Regions from separate parts of the Homo sapiens genome. Here region 2 is linked to region 1. Evidence: promoter capture Hi-C in 16 types of primary human blood cells and fetal thymus (Javierre and others, 2016). All regions are on one chromosome and are shown on one strand. Each heading gives the region's core, a stretch centred on a gene start or on the middle of the fragment in contact. The rest is flanking DNA. Distances are from core to core; before and after follow the strand shown.

Region 1 (7,271 bases), core at 1,919-4,418:
ATGTAGAAATTCAGTAATTATACATTTCAGTAATATTTTTGGTGCAAAATTCTCATATTATACCTGGCCATCTTCAGAAACACTATTTTTCTTCCCTACAACAGTTTCAGTTGGGTTCAATTTTATATGAAATATTCTTTTGAAGGTCAACAAGCAAGTTCCATATTACTGGCATAAACGATTAACTTGGACAAGAATCCAAGATAGAAAAATAATTATGAATAAGTCTGCGCCCAGGTTTATTTGAACTTGTTGGGTTCATTGAGTCTGGCACTGCATACCAAGTAAGTATGAAACTGTAAAAATTTATATTTTGACTAGTATTTTTGATCATAACAAATGTGATCTATGAATTAATTATAATGCTCAATTCAGTAGTATGCTGTCATATTTATGCCACCAGTGTACCTTCTTCAAAAAATAGAGATTGGCCGGGCGCGGTGGCTCACGCCTGTAATCCCAATACTTTGGGAGGCCGAGGCGGGCAGGTCACTTGAGGTCAGGAGTTTGAGACCAGCCTGGGCTACATGGTGAAACCCTGCCTTTACTAAAAATAAATAACAAAAATTAGCCGGGTGTGATAGTGCATGCCTATAATTCCAGCAACTTGGGAGGCTGAGGCATGAGAATTGCTTGAACCTGGGAGGTGGGGATTGCAGTGAGCCGAGATGGAACCACCGCACTCCAGCCTGGGTGAGAGAGCAAGACTCCATCTCAAAAAAAAAAAAAAAAAAAAAAAAAAAAAAAAAAGAAGGAGATAGTAGCAACTACTGCAGTCACTATGTATAGTCCTATAAAGGTATAGTTTAAAAAAAATCTATTTACTTTGAGAATCTGGCACAATATGGAAACCATTTGTTTAAATTCTTCTATGGTAGAACAGTTCATTATTACTCTGAATTGGATATCTATCACTTGTCAAGGTTTGGCTATATCAAATACCTAATCTCATACAGCAAAAGGCAGAGGTATTCTTTGCAGAAGGGCAATAACATCTTTCTGTTAACAATATTATAAAAGACTGTATAATTGTTTGTCGTCATTTAAATTGTGTGGTTATACTTTAAAGAAAGCATAAGCTATGGAGGCTAAACTTTAATAGTAAAAACTGGGGGACAGTGAATAGTAGGGCAAAGTGTAATAATAAAAAAATCAGATCGTGCCTGTAATCCCAGCACTTTGGGACGCCGAGGCTGGCGGATCACTTGAGAGACCAGCCTGGCCAACGTGGTGAAACCCCGTCTCCACTAAAAGTACAAAAATTAGCTGGGCGTGGTGACGTGCACCTGTAGTCCCAGTTACTCGGGAGGTTGAAGCAGGAGAATCGCTTGAACCCGGGAGGCGGAGGTTGCAGCGAGCCGAGATGGCGCCACTGCACTCCAGCCTGGTGACAGAGCGAGACTCCATCTCAAAAACAAAACAAAACAAACAAACAAAATTATCAGAGATGCTATACAATGGAATGTATAGTTTTCACAGCCTCACCTCCGACAGGGTCTTGCCCTGTCGCCCAGGGTGCAGTGCGATATCGGCTCACTGTTGCCTCCTCTTCCCAGGCTTCAGCGATCCTCCCGCCTCAGCCTCCCAGGTAGCTGAAACCACAGATGAGCACCACCACGCCTGGCTAATTTATTTTATTTTTAGTGTAGGCCCAGGCTGGTCTGGAACTCCTGGGATCAAGTGATCCTCCTGCCTCCTCCTCCCAAGGGGCTGAGATTACAAACCTGAGCCACTCCGCCTGGCCTTCACAGCTTTTCAATCTGGTTCATATCCTTGTTTTGAAGTGTAATTTCTGCTTCTGCTTCACTTTCCTCACTGGAAAGGAGGGTTAATAACATTTATCTTGCAGGATAACATGAGACTTAGAGATAGCCCACAGGTCGGGGCATCTATTGCACAATATAGTTCAGCTCCTAAGAAAACCAACCTAGCACAACCAAAATGTGTGTATTTGTGTTTAGTTGTTTCATCCCCATATTGAATGTGCACAGGATTTTATTTCAACTACTATTTTTACTATACCATTTTTTTAAATGGAGACTTTGAAAAGATATGAAACACAATCCCTGTCCTCCTAAAAGTTTGTGAAATCCCAGCCAGAATGTCTTTGAAACCGTCATTCAAGTAGGGCAGTTCTGCCGAGGGCTAGAGAGCCTTCAGTTTACCCTTGGCAACACCCTCTAAAATCCCCTGTATACCTCTCCAGCTTCCATACACTTCCCAAGCTTTTAACCAGACACGAGACACCCTGAACACCAGCTGTTTAGCATTTAGATAAAACCAAAAAATGTTTCGAGAGGTTGACTCCAAAGATAGCAAAAGATGAAGAGATTGAAGATTTAATCGCGAACAAGCCACCCTATTCCTAATAATCATCACGCTTGGCTGGGCCCCGAAGGAAAAGCCTGGACCCTAGGGGCCTAGAAACAGAGAAAAGAAACAAATGCACAGCAGTTGGGCCACGTCCACCTAAGGAACAGTCACCGCACAAGCGGAGCGTTGCAGAGGAGCCCTGGATCACCCTCCCAGGATCGGAATGGGTGCGGCCCGGGGAGCCCGGTTCTAGGTGGACACCGAGGGCTGGGGAGCAACCGGTCCCGCGTGCCTGCCCGAGGGGCTACTGCCCCCGGGCGTATTTGCATCGCCACACCATCGGATGAAAGTAGCGTGTACGGCTCCAGAAAACACATGTCTCTCGGCTATTTTCAGGGGGGAATGCTGGGCACCCTCTGCTCTAAGTCCCTTGGGGTGGGAAGTTAGTGAACTTTCAGAATGGGGGAAGGCGCAGCCCAAGCGAGCCGGGGGCAGGGTGAGGGGGCGCCGCTGGATAGAGATGGGGGAAGGGCGGAGGTGGTTTCCTGAGTGTCTCCCTCCGGAGCCATCCCCGCGCTCAGCCAGCAGGACCGAGGAGGCGCGGAGACGGCGCTCACTTCTCCCCTCGCCTGCCGGCTTTCCAGTAAAGATGCGCCAGGGAGAGGTGTAGCCTGCTCGGGAAAGGCGGGTGCGGAGCGGGAGCGCGGCCGCCCGGGCCTGGGCGCGGCGGGAGGGGCGGCGGCGGCTCCTCACTGCACCAACCTGCAGGCGCGGGCTGGCTGGGCCAGCCGCGGCCCCTCCCACCGCACCCCACCCCCGCCGCCGCCGCCGCCCCGGGAGCCGGCCCGGGTCCCAGTAGGTGCCGCAAGGAGCCGGCGAGCGGAGCGCCCGCTCGGGACCGCAGCCGCCGGGCGACGTCGCCGCCGCACCGGGCACTTCTGTCTCCCCGGAGCAGGTTCCTTTCCCTCCCTGTCCCCTCTCGTCCCCCTTCTCCCCGTCCGTCCCCCTCCGCCCCCGCCCCCGCCCCCGCCCGCACCTCGCCCTCCCTCCTTCCGCCCCGCGCCTCCCGCGATCGCCCCCTCCCGCCCGGCCGCGCTCCCAGCTGGCGCTCAGCACCCCGCGCTCCCCGCGCCCGCTCGCTCCTCCAGCTCCTCCAGCTCAGTCTCCAGCTCCACCTCCGGCTCCCGCTGGGCCTCCCGCTCGCCCTCCGCGCCCGGCTCCCCGCGCGCCCGTCCCGAGTCCGCTGCTCGCCGGCGGCCGCCCGGTCATGTCAGGATGGAGATCCGGCAGCACGAGTGGCTCTCGGCCTCCCCCCATGAGGGCTTCGAGCAGATGAGGCTCAAAAGCCGCCCCAAGGAGCCCTCCCCAAGCCTGACCCGAGTGGGCGCGAACTTCTACAGCAGCGTCAAGCAGCAGGACTACAGCGCCAGCGTCTGGCTTCGGAGGAAAGACAAGCTGGAGCACGTAAGGGCGACTCGCTCCCGGGGGCCTCGGCCAGGCACCTGCCGCATGCACCCTCCCCGTGGTGGTGGCATGAGCGCGCGCGGGGCGCGGGGGGCAGGCGAGGGGATCCTGGCAGGCGCCGACGTCCTAGGTCGGATTCGGGGGCTTCTCTGCCTGCAGTTTCTTGCCTTAATGACCGGGCTGCGGGGAGGGGAGGGCAGGTTCCCTTTCAGGCTCTTGGTCCCTGCCGACCCGACCTGCCCACCTGCGTCTCCCGGTAGGGTTCATTTGCACGGGGTTCTGGAGGTGCCTGTGCAGAGTGAGCACGAAGGGGAAGTGCCACCAGCGTGGCTCCGAGCAACCTGGCGTTGCATGGTAGTGGGCTTTAGAGCGGCGTTTGCCCGCGTCTTTGGGGGCTGTTTTACTCAGTCCAAAAACTAGCAAATTAACGAATGAGTAAAGTTGGCGCCGCTAGCGACCAGCGTGGACCCGCGCACAAGCCATTAGAGTTTTTTGCAGAGTGTCCGCTGGGATGAGCAGTTGGTGATCCTCTCTACTTGAGCCCAACTAGGGAGAGATTTGCGCGTTGCAAGGAGAAAGGCTAAAAGCGAGCGGATCGTCGGGCTCCCCAGAAATCCTCCCCTCTGGAGGGTGGGAGCCGGTGAGAGGGGACCTCTACTCCCAAGGAGTGCCGACTTCACGCGAAGTGAATTGGCTCTGGAGTTGAGCTCCTAAGGCTTGCTATTTTGAAAGAAAAAAAAAAAACCTTCTAAAAAGGCGTTTAGTGGATCCACAGTTTCAAATTTGATCCATCAGCATCTTCTTAAACCAAATGTTAAAATTAAACTAAGAGAATTATCTCAAGAGTGCAGCACAACTAGCTAAGGAGAAGATGCTATTTCTCCCTGCAGAGCTGCAGAATCCAAATTGAGTCTGCTAATGGAATGTGGAGGTTTCCTTGTATTTGGGTCAGGACGCCAACAATGATAAAAAAGATAAGACCAAGAACTCCTGGAACTCACGCATTTCCAACTGCTGCACCGACCTGCTTCCCATCTGCCCCCCAAAGCACTCCTCCTGGGCTCTGCAGCACCAACAGGCTTCTTCCCAGGAGGAAACACGCGAAGAAGGGGCATTTCTCTATTATAATAATCTGAAAGGAAGGTCTGTGCCTGCTTTCTGAGGGCCTGATGAAGTCACTGAAAGCTCTAATATGAAGCTTTGAGTTGGATAACAGCACTATTTTATGTGTAGAGAGCCATTTGCTAATGTCAAAGGGATGCCTCATATCCTTAAGACTATGGAAGTCGCTGAAGGTTTCTAGGATGGCAAGTTGTTTGAAAGGCAACGTATCCATTAAACATGCCCTCTCCAGAATTAGTGAAGGGGCTGGTGGTGTTATTAGTTTAAAGGGGGCAAACAGCATCTTTATGCATTACATGCAAAGAGCATGTAATCAACCAATGATGTGGCTGATTTTAGTATCAGGGATAACAGTCTAGCCTTGGGAGGGTGATAGAACGTATCTTCGTTTTAGTTTCACTCTGAATGTATGTTCTTTTGCAGTTTGTGCTTTTAGCTGGTCTATTTCCTTTATTCTCTTACTGAAAATCAGTGGTGCAGCCTTCTATGACTATGTCTTGAGTCATGAGCGGTGCACGCATTATACTTAAATGCTTTCTCACTTTTAGATTTTCATTGAAAGTATCAAGTCATACCATGTGTGCCACAGCAGTCTCACCTTTCTGCATGAGTATGGGATGCTCAGCCTCCTCTGAGGATTGGAGACCAGGGAAAGGAAGATGTGGTTATTTGAAAGCGTGTGAGCATCTATGCTTTCTTCTTCACTCAGATACTCCAAAAGAGAGCATTGCATACATTTTTAAAAAAATCATTCTCCTCATTTGATATTTAAATCAGTGTAGCATTTGTTTTACTTTTTCAACTACATTTAATGAGAGATGCATATATCTATTCTGATGTTTTTCTCTACACACCCTTTCAATTAGAAATGGGGCTTTAAATAAATTTATTGGTGGTATTCTCTTGCTCCTTTGAAACATCACGAACATTTTTAATGAATTAATATTAAAGAAAGTGCTATGAAAAATTAAATTAGTATACAATATAAATTTTTTTTGAATTCAAGAGCTAGTTGTTTATAATATACGTCATGTTGAATGCACTATAATATTTCAGGTAGTTTGATGGTAATTTCTAATAGAAATTAATGTTTGAGATGTCAAAAACCTATAACAAATGTAACCTGGTATCATTGCTACAGAAAGCATGAAAATCTAATGTTGACTTCATTGTAAACAACATTCTGAACATATATGGTACCTTCTGATTCATATGTTGCAGGGATTAGGATGAGTGTGTCATGTGAAATTCAAAGGTGATATATGGTAGTTTAAAAACACCCTTCTGGTCTGTCTAATCAAATGGATGGCCACTTTTTTATGATGTTGAAAAAATAAATTAATAATTATGATGGAGATCATATGCCTGAAAACAGCCTACTCAGTTATTTTGCTGGTGCTTTAAAAGCCAATCTAAGTATTAAGGAAATAAATAAGTTATGACTTCAAATGACACACATATTTGGTCATCATAATAACAGAATTCCCCTGAAATGAAATGTGGCAGTGTGTGGGCTCTGTCCAGACTTCAGAGGGATAGATTAATCTGAAAGTCAATCATGTGAGATAAAGCAGACAACCAAAGAATGGATTTCCACCCACTTTGCTAAAAGTGAGAATAATTTATTTCTTCTTTTCTGATTTAAAGGCTGCTGGGCCAATTCTCAGGTTGGACAAGAAAAAAATGACCTGAATTAGTTGAGGATTGGAATCAATCTTTAAATATGGTTCCTGTCACTGGATGGTCGACACTTAAGATGAACACTTACTAAGAAATAAATGTTTATAGAGAATCATTCCATACTAAAATAATGAATAAGAAGCTGCGAGGAAGTCGTGTTTTGTAACAAGAATTCTGGACTTTGAATTCCACTGTGAAATTTCAGGAAAAAGTAAAATTGCTGGCCATACACAGAATGTTGTATTATTAGTTACAAATAATGCTCTTGGTTGTTAAAATCTTTTGTTTCCTGTTCTGCTTCATAATGTCCAGAGCTTTGGAAGGCATTAGGCTTGGGAAACAGTGGAAGTTCTGTTCTCTGTAGGATCCTGTATTTACTTTAGGTCTAATGTAAAAGTGAAGGATTCTGGTCCAGCAAAGCAAGAGGAGCAAGGGACTACTTCCAAACCCTCTAATCCACCCCTGCTCTTGCAGCCTCCCTAGGGCTGGGTTGCTTTGGAGGTAACCATTTAATAAGATGTGACTATCCCAGAGGATAACATGGCGTTAGGCTGGCATCCTTTGGTGCTGTATGCTTTTTTGAACATTTTTCTTTTTTAAAGGGGAAGAGATGCAAAGCCCACTCTACTTTGTTGCCTGGTTTTATGCCAGCTGCACTGTACGGAGGTTTCCTGGTGCTATTTATGAAGATG
Region 2 (7,102 bases), core at 1,843-4,342, 260 kb before region 1:
CCCTTGATTTCAGCTGTCTGGTGTCCAGAACAGTGAGACAATACATATCTGTTGTTTTGAGCCACTCAGTTTGTGGTGCTTTGTCACAGCAGCCCTAAGAAACTAACACAAGTGGGTAATAAACATTTGTTTCTACGTCAGGTCAGATGTAATTCCTCTTGAACTAGAAACGTATGAGCTGAAAAGATAGGCTCTCACTCCCTCCCCTACCACCAACACACATTTACCCACTGTGCAGTGCTGGAGCAGAGATGTGACAGGGCAAGTGTGCTCTGCACGGGGAAGGAAGAACTGAGTATGTAGTGACCCGTGGGGTGGAATGTGGTAGACATGACCGCTTCACTGCTATCCAGCTTCCCTTTCCTTTCAGTGCATTAGGATTGTTTTTCATGTCTCTTTGAAGTGAGTCATAGTCATGGAACTGGTTCTAGCAAATGGGTTTGGGTGGAAATCATTGGTCCACGACTTTCCAGCCATCATGAAAACACTTTTTAAGATAAAGCCTTCATCAGACTGAGTCCCAGAGTGACTCTGATAAACAGAGCTCCCTTATCCACCCGCATGAGGCATGCAAAATGAATGGGAAATCTTTGTTGCTTTAAGCCACTGAGGTTTGGGGTTGTTAGTCACCACGGCAAAACCTAGCTGATGCAGACAGATGAAATGAGCATGTAACTCAATGGTCTACTCTTGTAATTACAGTTGATCCTTGAACAACGTGGGCTAGAACTGTGTAGGTCCACTAGCACGTAGATTTTGTTCTGCCTCTGCCATCCCTGAGACAGCAAGACCAACCCCATCTCTTTCTCTTCAGTCTACTCAATGTGAAGATAATGAAGATGAAGACCTTTATGATGATCCACTTCCTCTTAATAACCAGTAAATATATATTCACTTCCCTCCGATTTTCTTAATAACATATTCCTTTCTTCAGCTTACTTTTTGTTAGAGTACAGTATATAATACACATAACATATAAAATGTGTATTACTTGACTATGTTACGAGTCAGGCTTCTAGTCAACAGTAGGCGATCAGTAACTAAGCTTTTGGGGAGTCAAAAGTTATACATGGATTTTCACCTGCACAGGGAGCTGGTGTCTCTAACCTCTTGTTCAAGGGTCAACTGTATTGCATTTTATTATAATAAAATAAATTAGTATCTGAATCTGATTTCTATTATCTAAATCATAATATTACACCATTTATTCTTCAGAATGAACTTCTTTGGTCCAGGAATGTAATGACTTCCCATCTAACTTTCTGTTCACTTCACTGGGCTTTATTGTTACCATTATCACTTGCACCCATTCATATATTTATTGAATGCTTGCTATATGTCAGGCACTGTTTTAGACATTGGCATTTAAAGATTAAGAAGACATAGTCTCTGACCTTAAGTAATTCACTGTTTAAAGAGGTAGACAAACATGCAAGCACTTTGCATCATTGCAGAATGAGAAGTTCTACATAAATCTTTTTACTGTCTATCCTCCTGGGTCAATGGGTCAGGCCTGCTGTGAGCTGCCTTTGGGAGCACATTCCTAGTGTGAGAAGTCATTGTTGGGTGCAAATGGCCAGGGTCTTGGATGGATAACAAGGGAGGTCATAACACATGATTATTTATAGAGACCCAGTGTTAAGAAAAAAGATTGCCATGAGAATCAAGAAACCAAACATTCTGAGTCTTGAACAGGCAAAATCACCCTAGGAGGCAGAGCCAGGTCTGAGCTAATGCAGTGGGCAGGGCAAGTTAGGCGTGGCCCAGCAAGTCATGCTGGAGAGAGGGACTGGGGACCAGCAGAGATTATTGAAGGAACCAAGGTGGGCTTGACACTTTCCCAAAGTGTTACAAAAGCTAAGAGGAAGTGAATGGCTGTTTAAGGATGACTAGGGATTTCCCAGTAATCAAACAAACAGGATGTATTTCCAGATAGATAAGTGATATGGTTTGGCTGTGTCCCCACCCAAATCTCATCTTGAATTATAATTCCCGTAATCCCCACATGTCATGGGAGGGACCCAGTGGGAGGTAATTGAATCATGGCGGTTTCTCTCATGCTGTTGTCATGATAGTGAGTGAATTCTCATGAGATCTGATGGTTTTATAAGCATCTGGCATTTCCCCTGCTTGTACTCATTCTTTTCTGCTGCCCTGTGAAGAAGTGCCTTCTGTCGTGATTGTAAGTTTCCTGAGGCCTTCCCAGCCATGTGGAATGTGAGTCAGTGAAACCTCTTTTCTTTATAAATTACCCAGCCTCAGGTATTTCTTCATAGGAGTGTGAGAACGGACTAATTCAACAAGGAATGTCAAAAACCATGGTGGGCAGGGGAAAGGAACATGAAATACTCCCTAAGACTAAAGTAGAGTTTGTGGAGATGGCATGGGGGAGCTGGAGATCCAGACAATTGCAAAGAACATTGTAAAAGAGGGCAAAGAGCTTGGACTTGATTTTAGAGACAATAGGAAGCCGAATGAAGTTTTTAAGCAGTTGTGATCTGAGTTGTTCTTTTAGCTGGAGTAATTTCGCAGCCTCATGGAGAAGCAGCTGGTATGAGGGGGTCTGTGGCAGGACAGCTGGGCAGAGGGACCCCGCAGTATCCAGAAGGAGACAGTGAGGGGCTGGAGCAGGCAGTGGTGCCAGCACTGGGGAGGAAAGACCAGAAAATAAATACATTGAAGATTTGATGCCTAACTTAATGTGGGGATAAGGAAGACATTGGTAAATTATGCAGATCACCACTTCAAAAAATGATGATAAAAACCAGGACTGGAAGTCAAATATCTCAGTTCCAATTCTAGTGCAGCAACGAACTGGCTGTTTGACATTAAGAAAATCACTTTACCTCTCTGAGTTTATTTATCAAAGGAAGGAGTTAGCTGGAAAAATCAAAATGTTCCTTCCAGATTGAAAATCCTATTTTAAGCTTTTTTCCCTTCACTATACTTAGTTCTAAAATCAGTGAGATGTGAAACCCCTGCTGTTTTTCTCTAAAGTAAACATAGATGTATATATATATGTATCTCACATTGTCTTAAAGACCCTGAGGGTCTAACATTTATTGAAAATGTTATGAGACAAATGATGAAGCCGATGACTTGCCCATGGAATTTGACCTTGATAAAACAGCACATCATAAACAGACTTAGGGAGAGGAGATGAGGGGAGTTCAGAGATAAGCCAGGAAATATGAACTGGGCAAGACCGTTAAAAATTGAAACAGTGTTTCTCGGTTGCTGTATTTGTGGAAAGCTTGTGGGTTACAGAAATATTGAACTTCAATGCTTGAACCAAACAGGTAATGAAACTAATTGGTTTTTAAGGTGTTTGGTCATGCATATCTTCCTCATCATTTTAGAAGGTTCTAGTTCCTTCTAGTGGATAGTTTATAAAATCTTTAAATACAGGCTTCATGATCTGAGGTGAGTTCCACAGTACAGTACAGTAAAAGTGGCCACAAGCCACACATTTAATGGGACTGATTAGAAATTAAAAAATGTAGCCATTTCTCTTCATCACATTGCCAGCTGATCTCCTGATGAATGTTTTATGTTAATGTGTGGATGTTCTTTTTGGTCTACCTCATTTAGCGAAGCAGCTTGAAAATTTTTCATCCCACATTTCAAATATTTTGTTCCAAGGATACTGAATAATGAAATGTGCTCCTCAGCATCTTAAATAATAAATCCGTTTATTCATGAGGCAATCAATTTTGTAAACTTCATGTAATTTAGGTTTTTCCGATGTAATGTGAGATTTTCCAAGAAAGAGGAAGGATATACAGTAAATAGAATCTTGCCTTTTCCTTTTTATTTTCCTAAGGGTACTATTAAGCCTAAATATGTCTGTCACACAGGCTCTTAAAATAACAAAATAACACTGAAAAATTGAATGTTTCACCCATAGGCCTTTAGGCTTCAGGCTTTAATATCCTTATAATCAACAATGGCCTATGTCAGTGATGGAAGACAAATAGGTAATGACTTTTGGAGAAATAGTGTTTTACCTTCAGTGTGCAAGAACACATTCTAAAGCTTCCAGTGCTATGACTCAGCCTTCAGGGATGTTAAGGAGAAAGAGGCAAAAATTTGGAGCACGTCTCCTGTGGCTCTGAGGAAAGGCAGAGAGAGAAAGCCTGTAATTACCACCTAAAAGTCCCTGGGGCTCTGTCATGGGCATAATTTTGATTTGAGCTGGAGTTTGTTTAGGGATAGGTAAGAGGAGCTATGTTATGCAGTTGGGGATGGGATACTGGTAGCGGGCAAAAGTGAGGAAGTGAGGAGATTATTTACATCCATTCATTCATTCAATAAATCTTTGTTGAACCTAGTATTTTCTAGGCATTGCTGGGGATAGAGCACTAAACGATATAGACAAAAACCCTTGCCTTCAAGGAGCTTATAGTGTAGTGCGGGAAGCTAGGCAATAAACAAAGAAACAAGCAAAAGTTACAGTATGTCAGAATGTGATAAGTGTTTATGGAGAAGAATAAAGCTGGAGAATGGGATAGAGTGTGCTGGTGGGCATAAGAGTACTATTTTAAACAGAGCAGTGGAGGAGGTCTCCCTGATAAGATGATATTTAAGAAGAGAAGGAGGTGAGAGAGAGAGCCATTGAGGAAGAGGGCATGTGCAAGGAAAAAGGCCTCCCAAGTAAGACGAAAAACAGCATGAGCAAAGAAAGGCCTGGAGACAGCAGTGCACTGGCTTGTTCAAGGAGCCAGATGGTTAGAGGGAGCGACCCTAAGGAAACAGCAGGAGAGTTGTGTGTGGGATGTGGGGACTGTCCAGGGTGTGACGTAGGGCCTTGTAGATTCCTACTCTGCCTGAGATAGAAGCCGCTGCAGAGTGCTGAGTTGAAGGGTTAAGGTGCTCTGACACGGAGTTCCAGATAATCACTCTGGTTGCTGTGCGGAGAGTAAACTATAGGTGAATGCGGGGGCAAGGGAAAGGGTGAAGCAGGCGTGCACATCAGTGGAACTTTCAATAATCCAGATGAGAGATGATGGTGGCTTGAACCTGGGCGAAAGCAGTGGCAATGAGGCGTGGTTGGATCCTGAGTATATTTTGAAGTGAGAACCCACAGGACTTACTGATATGGATATGTTTTACAAGATAGAGGAGTCATAAGTGAAAAAATTAATTCTGTCTGAGCAGCTAGAAGGATGATGTTGCAAGATTGAGGAGACTGGGGGAAGTGTGAAGGAAAAGGTTAGGAATTTCTGGACATGTTGAATACAAAATGACTTCAAAGCATGGAGGAAAAACGAACAAAACCTGAGCCCCCTCAATTTTAATGTGTATTGTTTAGGAATACAGATAGGTGGGATAAAAACTTTATAAAATGGAAAGGAATGATAAACACAAAATATAAGATAGTGGCTTTATCATTCGGAGAAGAAAAGGCAGAGTGATGGGGTAGAGAAGGAACATACAGGTTAATGCAATGAAATTGGTGATGTTCCAGTTTTTAAGTGGAGTAGAAGCTTCATTGGTGTTCATTTTATTATTATGCTTCATAATTTACAGATATCCTCTTGCATTAATCAAATGTTACATGGTAAGAATTTAAGAAGGGAATGAGAGCAGTTGAAAACATGGAGTGTGGACAGCTATTTTGAGGGGTGTTTTTGTGAAAGGAAGTAGAATTTTTTTTTTTTAAGATGGAGTCTCACTCTGTCACCCAGGCTGGAGTACAGTGGTACAATCTTGGCCCACTGCAACCTCCGCCTCCCGGGTTCAAGCGATTCCCCCGCCTCAACCTCCTGAGTAGCTGGGATTACAGGCACACACCACCACGCCTGGCTAATTTTTGTATTTTTAGTAGAGACGGGGTTTCATCATATTGGCCAGGCTGGTCTCGAACTCCTGACCTTGTGATCTGCCCACCTCGGCCTCCCAAAGTGCTGGGATTACAGGCGTGAGCCACCACGCCTGGCCGGGAAGTAGAAATATTGAGTTGAAGTGGGGTCAAGAAGGGGTGTTTTAAAATAGGAATAAATGAGAGGATGTGCATCTGCTGATAATGATCCATAATGAAGGTGATATTGACGGCACAGGAGGGAAAGTGTTTCCTTGCTACAGAGATATCATTGAGTAGGAGAGAGGGTGTAGGGGGTTTCTGGTCTCTTCTTGCTCATTTGAAGGAGTTCCCTTTATATTCTAGACACCATTACTGATTTTAGAAATTGAAAATATCTCCTCCCATGGTCACCGTCCTTAGCACCCTCCATTAAACAGAAATTCCTATATTGGATGTTATCAATTTATTTCATGTTTTGTTCAAGGTATTGTTTCTGAATTTTGTGTAAAGAAGTTTCTCCCTGCTCCTAAGTCATGGGAGTAGTCTTTTATGTTTCATTATATCAACTTTATAGCTTTACTTTTCAATTTTAGGCCTTTAATTCTTCTAGCATCTCCCTTTATTTGTAGCATTAGGCAGTGATCCAACTTCAAATTCTCAAAATGGTAAACTAGTTTTTCCAATACAATCTACCAAACAATCTACCTTTTCCCTAGTGGTTTATGGAAAAACAATTGTTTGCAAGATTTTTTTTTTAAATCCCCCTGAGTATTTGCTTTCTCCAAATTTCCTTTTTACTCTTGATATATTGTGACTCCTGCTTTTTTTTAATTACAAATTATATTTCAGCATCTGGTGAGCCTCCCTGCGTGTTCATATGTTTTAAAATTGTCACACTAAAAAGCTGATGCAGGTGGGGGAGGTTTGCCCATTTGCAGGCACATAGTAGGATGGGCTGGGAGGCGGGGAGTCTGTTTCCTTAGGGAATTCTCAATCTTGGTATATCTTAATTGTTTCATTTAAGAGAAGGCTCTTCTAATATCTTGTCTGAAAGATACCCATTCAGCTCCATGCTGTTAGAAAGGGCGAGGAAAGCCCTGAGGTAAGGGATCGTGTTGAGGGAGATTTTCAAAGTAGAATAGACAAATTGTTTGCTTAAACCACCTGTGTTCCTTGGCACAGTCCTGGCTTACACCACACCTGGGTGTTTCTAATCCAACAGACTCTCTGTTTGATACTCTCAGAGAATAACATCCAGTCTGCTTTCGGGGTTCAGATAGGGGCAATAGTTTGGCTAAC

What was found. The method cuts DNA at HindIII sites, captures the fragments that hold promoters and counts their contacts. A CHiCAGO score of 5 or more calls a contact.
Region 2: a contact is called between a fragment that was not itself captured here and the fragment with the promoter of PLD5 in region 1, in 2 of 17 cell types (total B cells and naive B cells). The highest score is 6.6, in total B cells.

Annotation. Positions count from the first base shown.
Region 1 is chr1:242,520,594-242,527,864 of GRCh38, reverse strand. PLD5 (phospholipase D family member 5) reads left to right here and starts at 3,168. Exons shown (of 10, transcript NM_001372062.1): 1 at 3,168-3,777. The coding sequence starts at 3,589. The HindIII fragment of the contact is 2,750 bases long and covers 2,228-4,977 here.
Region 2 is chr1:242,785,162-242,792,263 of GRCh38, reverse strand. No RefSeq gene overlaps it. Among named protein-coding and RNA genes, the nearest start is that of PLD5, 260 kb to the right of the region's middle. RefSeq lists a silencer at 3,963-4,257. The HindIII fragment of the contact is 326 bases long and covers 2,930-3,255 here.